Regions from separate parts of the Homo sapiens genome. Here regions 1, 2, 3 and 4 are each linked to region 5. The links are contacts of gene promoters, found by promoter capture Hi-C in human tissues and cell types (Jung and others, 2019). All regions are on one chromosome and are shown on one strand. The core of a region is centred on a gene start or on the middle of the fragment in contact, and the rest is flanking DNA. Distances in the headings are between cores, read along the strand shown. Region 1 has its middle 170 kb from the start of TSL. Region 2 has its middle 130 kb from the start of TSL. Region 3 has its middle 180 kb from the start of EVX1-AS. Region 4 has its middle 150 kb from the start of TSL. Region 5 holds the start of EVX1 (even-skipped homeobox 1).

What was found. Contacts are between HindIII fragments. The study calls those that stand out against the background at their distance.
Region 1: a fragment that was not itself captured here is called in contact with the fragment with the promoter of EVX1 in region 5 in 2 of the 25 tissues and cell types used here (IMR-90 fibroblasts and mesendoderm cells).
Region 2: a contact is called between a fragment that was not itself captured here and the fragment with the promoter of EVX1 in region 5, in 1 of the 25 tissues and cell types used here (spleen).
Region 3: a fragment that was not itself captured here is called in contact with the fragment with the promoter of EVX1 in region 5 in 2 of the 25 tissues and cell types used here (heart left ventricle and mesendoderm cells).
Region 4: a fragment that was not itself captured here is called in contact with the fragment with the promoter of EVX1 in region 5 in 3 of the 25 tissues and cell types used here (IMR-90 fibroblasts, mesendoderm cells and thymus).

Annotation. Positions count from the first base shown.
Region 1 is chr7:27,440,116-27,442,837 of GRCh38, forward strand. No RefSeq gene overlaps it. Among named protein-coding and RNA genes, the nearest start is that of TSL, 170 kb to the right of the region's middle. The HindIII fragment of the contact is 5,895 bases long and covers 1-2,722 here.
Region 2 is chr7:27,485,156-27,487,855 of GRCh38, forward strand. No RefSeq gene overlaps it. Among named protein-coding and RNA genes, the nearest start is that of TSL, 130 kb to the right of the region's middle. The HindIII fragment of the contact is 3,114 bases long and covers 1-2,700 here.
Region 3 is chr7:27,421,839-27,424,538 of GRCh38, forward strand. No RefSeq gene overlaps it. Among named protein-coding and RNA genes, the nearest start is that of EVX1-AS, 180 kb to the left of the region's middle. The HindIII fragment of the contact is 3,767 bases long and covers 1-2,700 here.
Region 4 is chr7:27,466,117-27,468,816 of GRCh38, forward strand. No RefSeq gene overlaps it. Among named protein-coding and RNA genes, the nearest start is that of TSL, 150 kb to the right of the region's middle. The HindIII fragment of the contact is 3,495 bases long and covers 1-2,700 here.
Region 5 is chr7:27,241,383-27,244,215 of GRCh38, forward strand. EVX1 (even-skipped homeobox 1) reads left to right here and starts at 1,420. Exons shown (of 3, transcript NM_001989.5): 1 at 1,420-2,075. The coding sequence starts at 1,649. It overlaps EVX1-AS (EVX1 antisense RNA), which reads right to left. Exons shown (of 4, transcript NR_120507.1): 2 at 533-628; 3 at 167-259; 4 at 47-68. RefSeq lists an enhancer at 1,038-1,915. The HindIII fragment of the contact is 9,702 bases long and covers 1-2,833 here.

The DNA of each region.
Region 1 (2,722 bases), core at 154-2,653, 200 kb after region 5:
AGATATGTTCTATTGAGCCATATTTCTGATCAAAGATGATCTGTCAAGGATCTGGAAGCTGACTTAACAAATAACTTGCTATTTTTTCAAAAAAAAGTACAAGATACTGATTGAGCATAAAAGTCATGGTTCTTAACTGAATCTCAAATCAGAGCGAGTACCTTATCATTTGGTCAGTGTTTTTCATAACTAAGACCCTTACTCACCTAACATAGGCTACCTACCATAGGTAGCCTAGTATGACAACAGGGAAAATGTTGCAGAAGAAACACATGTGTCTGGAGCAGTTAGCAAACACAAAGGTTCATTAGGGATCCTGTGAAACTCAGCAGCATATTTTACCATCATCTACAGAAATTTAGATATCCTAAGATATAACTTGAGACACCGTGGCATGAGATGGTAGATCTGTTAGATTAAGATCCTTTAAGATGGTGGGATTCTGCAGGTGGTCATATAGTTCTAAAACTGATTCACCGTTAAGGTTACTGAGTGTTGGAAACTAGAGCATAAGTGGTACCAAATTCAGGAAGAAGAAGTAACAATTTGTCTGACTTCCTTGACTCTTGCCTTATTTTTTATTTTTATGAGTCCTTTTAAGGGAATCAAAGTTTCCCTTTCTAATAAAATATAAGTAATCTCAAGTTAACAGTAATAATGAGAAAAGTAAATAATGCAGTTTAAAACTTTTAGCATATGTACACATGCAATAAAAAACACCAGAGACATGTCTCTGCCTTTCAATTTCTTTATCTGTAAAATGGAAAGAACTTTCCTCATTGTGCTTGCCTGAACTAACAGATTACTGTGAAAAACTTTTGAAACTGTCAACACCATTTGTATTAGTTATCTATTGCTGTGTAACAAAATTACCATATATGTGGTGACTCAAAACTAGACAATCATTTATTATCCTCTGCAGTTTTTGTGGGTCAAGAATTCAGACAGGCCCAGCAGGGATTTCTTGTCTCTGCTTCTCACTGTTAATGGTTTTGGCTGGAAAACTCAAAGCTTCAGAACTGGAAGCATGTGAAGGCTCTTCACTCACATGTCTGGCAACTGATGCTGACTGTTGACTGAAGGTCTAACTGGGACTGTGGATTAGAACACCCACATGTGGCTTCTCCATGTGGCCTGGGCTTCCCTAAAACATGGTAGCTGGGTTCCAAAGGCAAGTGTCCTGAAAGAGCCAAGTGGGAGCTATATCCTATGAGAGGTCACATAGCATTGCTTCCACCATATTCCATTGGTCAGGGTAGTCACACCAAGATTTGAAGAGAGGAGACAGACTCCCATCTCTTGGTGAAGAAGTGCCAGGCATCTTGCAAAAAGAGCGTATGGGATAGAAGAACCTTATAGATATTGCGATTTCTGGAAAATACAATCTGGTACACTATTCAATGGAGAAAGGGTTATTGTTAGTGGTAATATTAATGCTAGGAAGGTTTTTTAGACATGATTATTAACACTCCTCTTTTGTCAGATCTTGGACTATCTCTATGTGCAAAACAGTGAAATAGGTAAGGCTTGTTTTCAAAGATGTGCCCCTGCCCCTAGCCTTCTACTTCACTCTTATATTTATTCTTCCTCTCTCCCAGGGGTTCATCTTTCCATAACACTTCCCAGATTCCCAAGCTCCAGACATTTCTATTTTTCTACCTCCCATGCAAACTCAACCTTTGCTGTCCCCATCCACCAAGGCCTCAAGAGATCTCACTTTCAACCCCACTTGCTAAAGTAAAAATGGTTTATGAGCCATCTCAGAGACAGAACTAATTTCTACAGCATCAGGGCTTTGTGAAAGCAATGTCATATGCCAACACATATCTTGGGGGACCAGTAAAGCCAGTAAGGTTCTTGCACTGTAAAGGAATTTGCTCCTTGCTTCAGAAGAGCCAAAGCATGTCCTTGATAGACACCAGAATGTTACCTCTTGTTATCTGTGGAATTATGGGTGACTTTTACTTTATCCATTCATATTTTCAATCTTTTATAAGTTTTCCACAAAGAATGTGTATTGATTTTGTCATTTGGAAACAAAGCTATTTTTTAACAGCTTTATTGAGATATAATTCACAGACCATACAATTCGCACACTTAAAGTGTACAATTCAGTGGCTTTTAGTGTATTTACAGAGGCGTGCATCCATCACCACAATCAACTTTAGAAACATTTTTATTACCTCCCAAAGAAACCTCACACCCCTTAGCTGTCCCCCTTAACTCCTCATCCCCCATTTTCTGTCTCTATGGATTTGCCTGTTCTGTACCTTTCATGTAAAAGGAATCATATAATATGTGGTCTTTTGTGACTGGTTTCTTTCACATAGCATAAGGCTTTTCAAGGTTTTATGGATTATAGAATGTATCAGTATTTCTTTCTTTTTATTGCTGAATAGCATCTCATCATATGGGTATATCACATTTCATTTATCCATTCACCAGTTGAGAGATGTGCCAAATCTTTACCCCTGGAAGTGAGTCATAGGAGCCAGAATTTCTCTTCCCCAAAGTGAGTCATAGAACCTAGAACTCCTCTCCCCAAAGCAAGCCATAAAACCTAGGATGATCACTCTCCCTCTTCCCTTCTTCCTTGAAGACTCTCATCCCAGAAGGATCTTGCCCAATCCTCAAGGAAGGAATGCTACACAGAGAGGCCAAGAAGGATTTGAACAGACAGGTCTTGCTGGGTTCCCCCTCTCCATCTATTACTATTAGATCA
Region 2 (2,700 bases), core at 89-2,588, 240 kb after region 5:
AATTGCTTGAACTCTGATGGTGGAGGTTGCAGTGAGCCGAGATTGTGCCATTGCACTCCAGCCTAGGCGACAGGATGATACTCCATCTTAAAAAAAAAAAAGAAAGAAAGAAAGAAAAAGAAAAAAAGAAAATGTCTTTTGCAGAGTTGAAATTTTTAATTTAATTTTATTATTTTTTTGAGACAGAGTCTCTCTCTGTTGCCCAGGCTAGAGTGCAGTGGCACCATCTCGGCTCACTGCAGCCTCTGCCTCCCAGGTTCAAGCGATTCAAGTGCCTCAGTCTCCCGAGTGGCAAGGATTACAGGTGTGTACCACCATGCCAGCTAATTTTTGTATTTTTAGTAGAGACGGGGTTTTGCCATGTTAGCCAGGCTGGTCTCAAACTCCTGACATCAGGTGATCCACCTGCCTCAGTGTCCCAAAGTGCTGGGATTACAGGCACGAGCCACCACTCCCAGCCTAATTTTTTAATTTTAATGAAGTGCATTAAAATTTTTTTGCATTGATTGTGCCTTTGGTATTGTATCTAAAAAGTCATTGTCATATCAAAGGTCATCTAGGTCTTGTCCTCTGTTACCTTCTAGGAGTTTTATAGTTTTGCATTTTATAATACTAGGATTTTTAACTCACAGATATGTGTGTTGCATCCAAACAAGTATGCTTGAGGATGTTCTCTGCGGTTTGTTTATAATTTCAAAAAATTAGGAATAATACAATTGTCCATCAGTAGGGGACTGGTTAAATTATGGCACAATCTATACATGGTGATGTTGAACAAACTTCAAGATATACTGTTGAATGGAAAAAAATCAATATACAAAGCAATGTTAACAATGTGCCACCTCTTGTACTTTGAAAAGGATACCGTGTATACACACACACACAAGCAAACAAACATACAGACACACATACATACATGCTGGTATATATGTAGACTATCTCTGGAACGACACAGAAAAAACTAAAAACAATGGTTGCTCCATGTGCAGGGGAAACAAAGGCCTGGGGAGTGGGGCAGGGATGGGAGGAGAGGCACCTCATCCTCATTGTATACTCTTTTGGACATTTTTAGCTTTGACATTGTGCATGTATTATTTAGTAAAATTAATGAAATAAAAATCCAAATACAATAAATGCACAGCAATGGACACCTGTTCTATACAATTCAAGGACACATTTTAGGGTTGACGAAATAATGCTAATACATTATTTAGAATTTAATATTTAGGTATATTTTTAATGATGGTAAAGCTGAGATTTCTGGGGATGTGGAGGAAACGGAGAGGGATAATCCACATACAGGTGGGCTTGCAGCACAGACATTACCTTGGGCTTTCCTCTGCTGGGAGATGCAGCTCCATGGGGAAGTCTCTGGGGGCGAGGAGGGGTCTCTTGCTGGGTGTCTGCCAACCATCCACATCAAAGGTCATTCTCACTCCTGCCATCTGGCAAAAAGGGTGTGAATTTTAGGAGGCAAATTATTAGACTATGGCATTCTCCATTTCTTCTTTACCTGGATGTCATTTACTAGCATATTTTAGCAAAGTAGGATGGCGTTAAGGGTGCAGAGGTGAGGAAGCCTGGGAAATGCTTGGGAAGCGAAGGCCTTGACTGGACAGCAGCAGAGGTCTTTGAGGGATCCTCAGAAAGCATGCCTTGCCCTTCTCCAGTTCTAAACAGAAAGGCTGCACAGCAGGGAGCTCCGTGTGCCCCACCATCTGATTGCCACCCAGTGCCATTGAAGCTTAGCCTGTGCCCCAGGAGCCAAGCAGAGATGGCCAGCCTCCAGCCTTCCGGGAGCCTCCATGGCCTCCAAGACCACACTTCATCTTCATTGGTGGCCCATCTGCAAATGGGCCAGGGATCTTAGTGACCCCCTTGAAGCCATATCCCTGGACCCCCTCCCACATCTACCTGCTCTGATGAACTGAGTCTGGCCTCCTTGGCACAGTGGCAGTTCCCTTGTTGGAGGCTGGCCACCTAGAGGACAGTGATTAGACCCTGAACCAGGCCAAGTTAAAGCACAGGTCTCTAAGTCCTATTGTGTAGAGGGTGGTGGAGTGCAGGGTTCCCCTGACTGAAACTGTGGATAAATAAAGAAATTCCATCTCATTGCCTATCAGTTTTTCCTGGTCTTCCCCCACAAGCAAAAATTACCAGAAAAGTACACACAGGTGAGCCAGCGAAACCAGGGAAATAAAGACCTGGGCCAGAGCAGCAGGGCACTGAATCTAAACAGGTGCTAGGATCCAGCCCCATGGATTTCTTCGGGGCCTGGTTTCATCTGGTGGACACTCACCTGGCTCGAATCCTACAGATGACTGTACGGGCTGTCCTGTCTGAATCTCACTTCATACTTGGATTCAGAGATGGCTTGTCTGGAAGGAACACTCTGCCCCACATGAAGACTTTTTCTAAAGAAAGATTTTTGTCTTTTAATGAGAAGCATCTTATCATTTTTACTTGACCCCTGGACTGCAGTGGAAGCCACGTCCCAGCTTGCACGTCCTCCCACTCTGGAGTGCAAACGAGCTCCCACTTGCACCACGCGTTCCCTGTGTGCTGGGCCCCGCTGGGCGGTCAAGGGCATTGTCTCACTTACTCCTCACAGCATCCTCTGAGGTGTGCACTATTTCTAGCCCTATTTTACAGAGAGGAGACGGGTTTGGAAAGGAAAAGCAAGTTACCCAAAGTCAACTG
Region 3 (2,700 bases), core at 68-2,567, 180 kb after region 5:
CCTTCCTGATCACCAGGAATAGAAAAGTGAGGATGTCTTTGGAGCTTATATTCCAGTGGAGCAATAGAGTCATAACAAAATGAACAACAATAACGGCCACTAATATTTATTGGGATTATAATATGCATAGCCTTACTTGATCTTTCTAATAATCCTAAGAGGTAAGTAAGAGTATTGTTTCATAGGAGAGGAATCCACAGGCTTCAAGGGGTTCGATAACCTGATCACACAACACAGCTGCTAAGTGGCCCAGCCCAGGGCTGGAATGGAACAACATGGTTCCCAAGTTTTCAGTCTTAACTGTGTCTTTCACTTTTATGGAATTGGGCTATTTTCAACTAACAACCGTGGTTCTAGGAAACAACACAGCCACTTTGTCCCTTTATGTTATTCTTAAAGAATCATTGCCCTGTCTCCCACTTTTATGCCAGTCACTGAGTTTTTGGTAGCCATTCACTGAACATGATCAAATTTAACCACCCAGTGTAAAGGATTTTACCTGCTGGTCAGAGGAACAACTCAGCATTTGGAAGAACATTTAATACTGTACGGCGGCGTTGGCCTTCATGCTGAGAGACAAGCGCACATCTCAAGGCCTACCCTGAACCAATCACTGGAGGATGGTTTAATTGGTTAATCATATAAATTACAATCACTTAATCATTTTAAGCACCATCAGCCAATTAGCTCAGAATTATGGGCTCTGAGGTAACAGTCATGCAAATGTTTGTTCCACTGCAGGCTATTAACAGCCATATTTTCTCTATCAAGATGACAGAGACTGATGGGTGGGGGAAGAAAAGGAAAGAGAGCATTTGTTTAGTTTAAACTTCTTTCCTGTTGGGTTATAATGAAGCATTCAGTGGGGAGGAGCGCCATGTGCAGTGATTTCTGTATCCTACTCAATGTGAGTCTCCGAGTGGATTGGAGGGAGGCCCCTGAGCAAAGAACTGCAAGGAATGGCTTCAAAACTGCTGAATCAAGACTGCGCAGGAGTTTAGCCTACTCTTGCTGCCAGGTGCTGGCTTTGTTGACCACCTGGTGTGCTCAGCCATAATACAGATAAATTGAGGACTGGCTGGGCACGGTGGGTCACACTTGTAATCCCAGGAGTTTGGGAGGCCGAGGCTGGCGGATCACTTGAGCCCAGGAATTTAAGACCAGTCTGGGCAACATGGCAAAACCCCATCTCTACAAAAAAAAAAAAAAAAAAAAACACCCAAAAATTAGCTGGCCACGGTGGCACACACCTGTAGTCCTAGCTACTCAGGAGGTTGAGATGGGAGGGTAGATTGAGCCCAGGAGGTCTAGGCTGCAGTGAGCTGTGATTGCACCACTGTACTCTAGCCTGGGCAATAGAGCCAGACCCTGTCTCAAAAAAAAAAAAAAAAAAAAAAAAAAAAAAAGAAAGAAAAAGAAAAGGAAAGAAACTGAGGACCAAAATGAGGACATGACTTTTGTGGCTGCTTTTTCTCCACCAAGCAACAAAGAGTGTCCACTAATCATGCAGGAGAATAGATCAAGTTCAGACAGAGCGTCCCCATCTACGATAACCATTACTATATACTAACAATGAAGAAAATAAAACAGCTCTGGAAAGCAAGGTGAGTCATCGTCAGCCGACCAGAAGCTGTGAACACCTGAACGTTTGCCAGTGTGGGCGTAGAGGAGCTGTTTGTGCTCATCAGTCCCTGGTTTAGGGCCTGGTACATGGTAGCTTCCCAGTAAACTCTTGTGGATGAATTAATGATTAGTGGCCAAATGTGAACGTAAGAAGCAGGGAGATGGAGGAGCACTCATCTGTTTGATGTGGCTGTGCTCTGCCAGCGTGCCTGTGCAAGTGTGTGTAAGACAGCTGGACCCTGCAGTGGAGTCTTTGCCGGCTTCTGGCTCCGGCAGAGCCTAGTGTAACTGCGCTTTCTGTCGGGTGGTCAGTTGAGTAGACTGGGTCATTTGCTAGCCTGCGATTGTAATATTTGCAAGTGCTGTGATGGTAAGGAACATCAGAACTTCAAAGATTACTTTTGTCAGGAATGTGTAGGAAGCAACATGGTTTTGTGGTCCCCAGTCACTTTGTGACTACGGCATTGTGGTCTTCAGACTTCACCTGTCTTGACTGATTAATTAAAGTTGGGGGTGGGACTGCTCCCAGCCTCTCACCATTTCCCAAGTGCACGCGCACGCGCGCGCGCGCACACACACACACACAGAGGTACATGCAACATATTTGTCATAAAACTTCATGCAGTCATTAAATAATACATACTGGACTTTTATGTGCCAGAGATCATGCAAGGGACCAGGAAAACCGCACAGAACACATAGCACTTGCCATGTGATGGCAAAGTATGGTCAAGTGCAGAGAGGAGAGGAAGACTCCTGAAGGCTGACATAATCAAGGAGAACTTCCCAGAGGAGGTGGGGATTGATCTAGGGAGAAATTAGATAGACAAAGAGATGAAAGTAGGGTACTTCATTGCACTTGTCATATTGACCTAGACTTAAAGCTTCAGGGAGAAAGTTTTCCAAATTAGGAGTTTTAATTTCCTTAAGGAAGTAACTGGCCTTGTTTTATCTTGTTTACACATGTCCCGGAGGTGCCTTGCCCGCAGGCAGCAGGAAAGGGTTCCTGGTAACTCCCTGTCTGACCTGAGCCAGAGGCTTGTCTCCCTCTCTGGCCTTGCTTTTTCTTCCTTAAAC
Region 4 (2,700 bases), core at 2-2,501, 220 kb after region 5:
AAAGTTGCAAAAGGTTGGTGCAAAAGTAATTGTGGTTTTTGCAATTACTTTTTTAAAAAAATGACCAAAACTGTCATTACTTTTACACCTACTTAATAGCTTAGTGTGAGCAGGGTCCTCGGGGGCAACCGGCAATGTCTGTGCTCTGTGGACAGGGTGCTCCTGGCCAGCTGGCATGGAGGGAGTCCATGGGGGATGGTAGGAGACGGTTCTGCAGAGGTAAGGTCTGGCCAGACCATGGAGGGCCTTGGATGTGGGAGGTGCATGTAAAAATGGTGGGGAAGTTGGACTCTGCCACGGGTAACTGGGGGTCATTCAAGTTTTGAGCAAGTAAAGGACTCCTTCATCTCTGCTTCAGAGATTGTCCAGGTGGCCAGGGGGAAGCAAGTAGGAGGGGAGCAAGGTTGCAAGTGGAAGCGGATTGCAGATCCTGAGTGGATGCAGTAAGAGTCCAAGCAGGCAGTGAGGCAGTGCAGGGATAGGGATAGGGATAGGGATAGGGACAGGGACAGGGACAGGGACAGGGACAGGGACAGGGACAGGGACAGGGATAGGGATAGGGATAGGGATGGAAGGACTGGGCTAGGAGAAAAACCAGTGGCCTGCAGTGACCACTAGTTCTTCCCAGACACAGACAAAATTGAGGCAGGAACAGGAAATGAGTGTGGGTGCTAATAGTGCGGGTGCCCCAGATAAAACAGTCCTAAGGGCATCTTCAGCGAACCCAGCCCAGCTGGCACACAGGACGACAGAGAGGTTCTGAGGTCTGCAAAGGTGAGTTCAGTACTCAGCCAAATGCATTCCTGCAGCATTAGATGGCCACAGCCCCCGACATGTGTTTTTAATGGATTCCCAGGCTGCTAACAGTTAACATTGTTAATGACCTGCGGAGAGTTCAGATCCCTGGATAAGGACTACCTGCAAATCTTGGTTATTACTTTTAAAGTATGCAAAGTGAACCTGAGCTGGTTCTTTTCTTCTTCCTTTAAAAAATGTAGATTCTAGAGTCTTAAGGGTGTGGGGTGGTGTGTGTGTGTAGTCATGTCTATATCATCTCTCGCATTGACAGACCACTTTCTCTGCCTGAGTCAGGTCACCTTGCTTAGGCTGAGAAACTTCATGTCAAGCATGAAGCTTTTCACTCTAAATCAGTTTTTACTTCTAAATTAGTTCCACAAAACAGCATCCATTAATCAATACCCTGTTCAATCATGAAGCCTTTTAAGCTGGAAGAGGTTGAGTGCAAGGGTGTGACGTGGGCTTCCAGATCTGCACCCCTAATCCCTGGAGGCCCTTCATCCTCTGCCCTTTCTTGCCCTTGTAGCCTCATCTCTTCCCTCTCAAGGGCTCCCTGTTTCTCAGCCTTTTACCCAACATGCTTCTTCACACTCTAGGGCCATGGCACGTTTTGTTCTTTCTGCCTGTGCCCTTCAAGTGCAGCACCATGTGCTCCATCCTTTCCTCACCCAGCCCCAGCTCACCTTTAATGCTTGGTGCGGGTGACACTTCTTCCAGGAAGCTCTCCCTCACCTGCTGCTCTGTGTTTTCATCTTCTGTGTTCACACAGTTTTGTCGCAACACTTTCACACTATATTTAAAAAGTATATTTCCCTTGATTATAAAAGTCACTCACACTTGTAGAAAATGTGGGAAATAAAAAAACTTAAAGAAAAAAATGCATATAAATTGACTACTTGGGGGTTATAAGCACTGTTAACATTTTGATGAATTTCTTTCCAGTATTTTTTCCATCTATATATTTGTAAAACTTTCATACTCAGAAAAGAAAAAAAATAAGTGCTGTAAAAAGACAAGGGGAACTTTGACTGAGAAAAAGTTCAGTGCATTTATTGTTTCTAGGTGACTGGCAACTTAAAAAATTGCTTAGTTTAAAAATCAAATTACAAGGGATTTTTTGGCACCAGCATAACAAAAGTGTGTGCTGGAAGATGAGTGCTTACACAAACAGTTGGTGTCCTCTTTTTTTATTTAGCATTTGTCATGCCCTAAGACTTCTTTGAAAATGTGTTTTTACTCCATAACCCTCTGTTTTCTGATTCTCATTATATTGCCCCGTTTGTTTACCTTTTGGTAGCCACTATTGGACTATAAGCTTCTTTCTTTCAGGCAGGGCCTGTGATCTTACTGTTTTTTAATTCAATCCCTAACCCATTCTGATGGAGTGGGAGTAGGCATGTAACAAACAGAACGCATTACCTGAGATTACCAAAAGATTACCTGAGTCTTCCTGAATTGCTTACTTACTCAACCCCTATTTGTTCTCTACGCTGAGGTGTGTCGAGACTGTACCAGCATCCACAGGTCTGGTGGGTGCCACAGGCCTGCACCACCCACATGCCCCTTAAGGGATGAAGGGCCACTCTACAGCTGCAGGGACTGCTGCCAGCAGGAAGCCCTCAGAGATTGCCTTGCCCAATGAGGAGCCGCTTCATCCAAGGTCACCCCCTTTCCCGGGGTGGCCTGCTGCATCCAATGACTGGTCCATGGAGGTATAACGTCCTGGCCCGTGTTCCCCAACTGGGACAACTCTGAAAAGTTCTGCTTCAGAACTCTCCTTAGCATCTACCAAGGTTGCCATTGAGACCACACCACAGCTGGACTCCTCCCACTGCCCGATCCTGCTTCCCTCTCCTCCCTTCCCTTGGGTGTCATCCCAAGAGCACCGCCCCCCCCCCGACA
Region 5 (2,833 bases), core at 170-2,669:
TGGCCCCAGCACACTTGCTTGGAGCTCAAAAAGGGTCAGTTTGAAGGAGTTTTATACCAGCTTCTTCCCTGGGAGAGGAGCCAAGAGAGGCCTATGGCAGCTTCCAGATATTAAGTTCCACAACCCCTGCCCCCACCTCCAGCCCTTCATCAGAGTCCCTACTTACTTGCTGTTTTAGGGCATTTTCAGCGACTTCACTCTCTTCTACCTCAAACGCCATCCACTTTTGGAGACAGGTACCACTGCCCCTAGGCAGGGACTTGGGAGAGGACCTTATGAGTCAAACCTCTATGAACCCCAACCTTTTTGTACTCGGGGAGGCTGAACCCCTGCCCAAAATAGCGCGGTGAAAGCTACTGCCTTCTCCCAAGTAGGGGCCTCCAGTACTGCCACAGCAGGGGCCGCATTCCTGGCGCCTCTTCATTCGAAAAACCTCTTTCCAGGAGACTTCGCTGATTCTGAACGAATACTTTAAAATATGGGCAAGGGAAAAAAAAAGACAACTCTTAGAAACTCTCCCCACCCAACATACCTGGAGTGCAGGCGAGGTCCAGGCAAACGGGAAAGCGACTTCTTGTACGAATAGCCATCTCAAGATGAAGCCAGGCTGTGGAAAACTTAAGGCCATCTAGATGGGAAGGAGGTATTTAAAAGAAATCAGCACACACTCTTACAGAAGCCAAGGCGGGTCTTTAAATTAAAAAATAATAATAAGGTATTTATTTCTTGCCCCTTAGGGAAGAAAAATAGCAAAGTTTGGTTCGCAGGAGTAAGGAGACAGAGGTGGGTAGGGAGAGGGAGGAGAAAAGAGGAAAAGATGGCCCAGCCTCAAGCTCTCCAGTCAACTTGGGGCGGGGGAATACATTTTTCCGTAGCTTGTAAAAAGACTTTTCAGCCAGTTTGAGGTTAGCTGCCAGGGGCAGACAGTTGTAATAATGCCGACAGAATTGAGGCTTGTAAGCCGGGCTTCACACTTCTAAAATGCAGTTATGGATTCTTTCATCGGTGTTAGATCAAGGCACCAAGTTAAGAAAACAAAAGTCAAAACAACAATAAAAGAAAAAATCAAAAGCTTATTTAATTACCGAGTCCCGCTGCCCCTGCGGAACTCGCCGCGCGCGTTAAGCTCTCTTTTCTTTCTGCGGAATTCCATTTGCATCCCCTCTGCCTGGGTGTCTCCCTCTCTCAGTGTGTGTGTCTCTCTGTCTGTTTTCACACTCTCCTCCCCAATCGAGCGAGGCCCACACCTGGCGCATCACTGCCGAGCCATTAGCTGCGGGTTTCCTTTCATCTTCGCTGTGGCAGACGTTTCTATTTATCCACTTGCGCTCGCCGAGTGGCGTCACCAGCGGTACTGTAATGACGATTGCAGCAGGAGGATGACAGCTTAGAAAGAAGAGGGCAATGGGGCTTCCTCCCAGAGGCGGTGCGGCACAGAGGAGCGCTCGCTTCACAAGGTGACCCTAGCTCCCACCGCCACCGCCGCGGTCGCGGTCCAGACCGCGCTCCAGCAGCTCCGCGCCCTCCCAGGCACCCGGCCTTTCTTTCTCCCTCTTGCAACCAAGATCCGTCCGGCCGCTGGAGACCCAGGGAGCCGGGGTTAGGAACTCACTTGGGGCTTTCCCCTCCCCCACCGGAGAGCCCCGGGATGGAGAGCCGAAAGGACATGGTTGTGTTTCTGGATGGGGGTCAGCTTGGCACTCTGGTTGGCAAGAGAGTCTCAAATTTGTCCGAAGCCGTGGGCAGCCCGCTGCCGGAGCCGCCCGAGAAAATGGTGCCCCGTGGTTGCCTGAGCCCTCGGGCCGTCCCTCCGGCCACCCGGGAGCGCGGCGGGGGAGGCCCGGAGGAGGAGCCGGTAGATGGACTCGCAGGCAGCGCGGCGGGGCCGGGCGCCGAGCCCCAGGTAGCTGGGGCGGCCATGCTCGGCCCAGGACCCCCGGCCCCCTCAGTCGACAGCCTCTCCGGACAGGGGCAACCCAGTAGCTCGGACACCGAGTCGGATTTCTATGAAGAAATCGAGGTGAGCTGCACCCCGGACTGCGCCACCGGGAACGCCGAGTACCAGCACAGCAAAGGTAGCCACCGTGCCCCTCCGCTCCCCGGGCCTCCCACTGCGCCCACCCTTCACTTCGGCGCAGGCCAGGAGGAAGACACTCCCTTCCCCTAGGGCAGGATGGCTGGGGGGACCCACCTGAGCAACTCTCTCTGCTATCTGCGTTCTGGCGGGGGTCTCCTACTGTGTTCTGGCATTGGCGGGACTGAGGGTGACAGCAGTGCCTTGAGTGCGGGGTGCTGAGGGGGCGGATGCAAGTCCTGGACTTGGGGGATTCGAAGCTCACCCCAAGCACCCAGTGTTTCAACTGCTCGGGGAATGCTTCAATTGCTCGGGGAAGACACTTTCCCCAGGCGAGGGCAAGATCAAACGCCGATCCGGGCAGTTTGTGGCTGGCAGGGTGTAAGAGGCATGGAGGCGCGGAAGCCAGGAGTCCATAAAGGACCGTAAAATTGCGGCCCACTTGGGCAGCCCGGGTGCTGCAGCCCTCCGACCAGTTTGCACGTCGGTCAGAGGTCCAAATTACCTTGTCACTTCCCGGGCTTCGCGGCGCCAGGTCGGAAATGGTCCCAATGGTCTAATTGCCTTTGGTCTCCGGTTGCATTTGAAAAGGCAGAGATCGGGTCCTCCCCCCTTCCCCTTTCCTTCCTAGTCCCACTTCTCCACCCAAAGGAAAAGGAGCTGCAGGGGGCTGGAGCCCCACCCTTCTCAGAGGTAGGCCCAAAGGGGGGCTGGTTTAACTGGAGAACCCCTCCCCACCAAAGGCTAATGGGAAAGGGG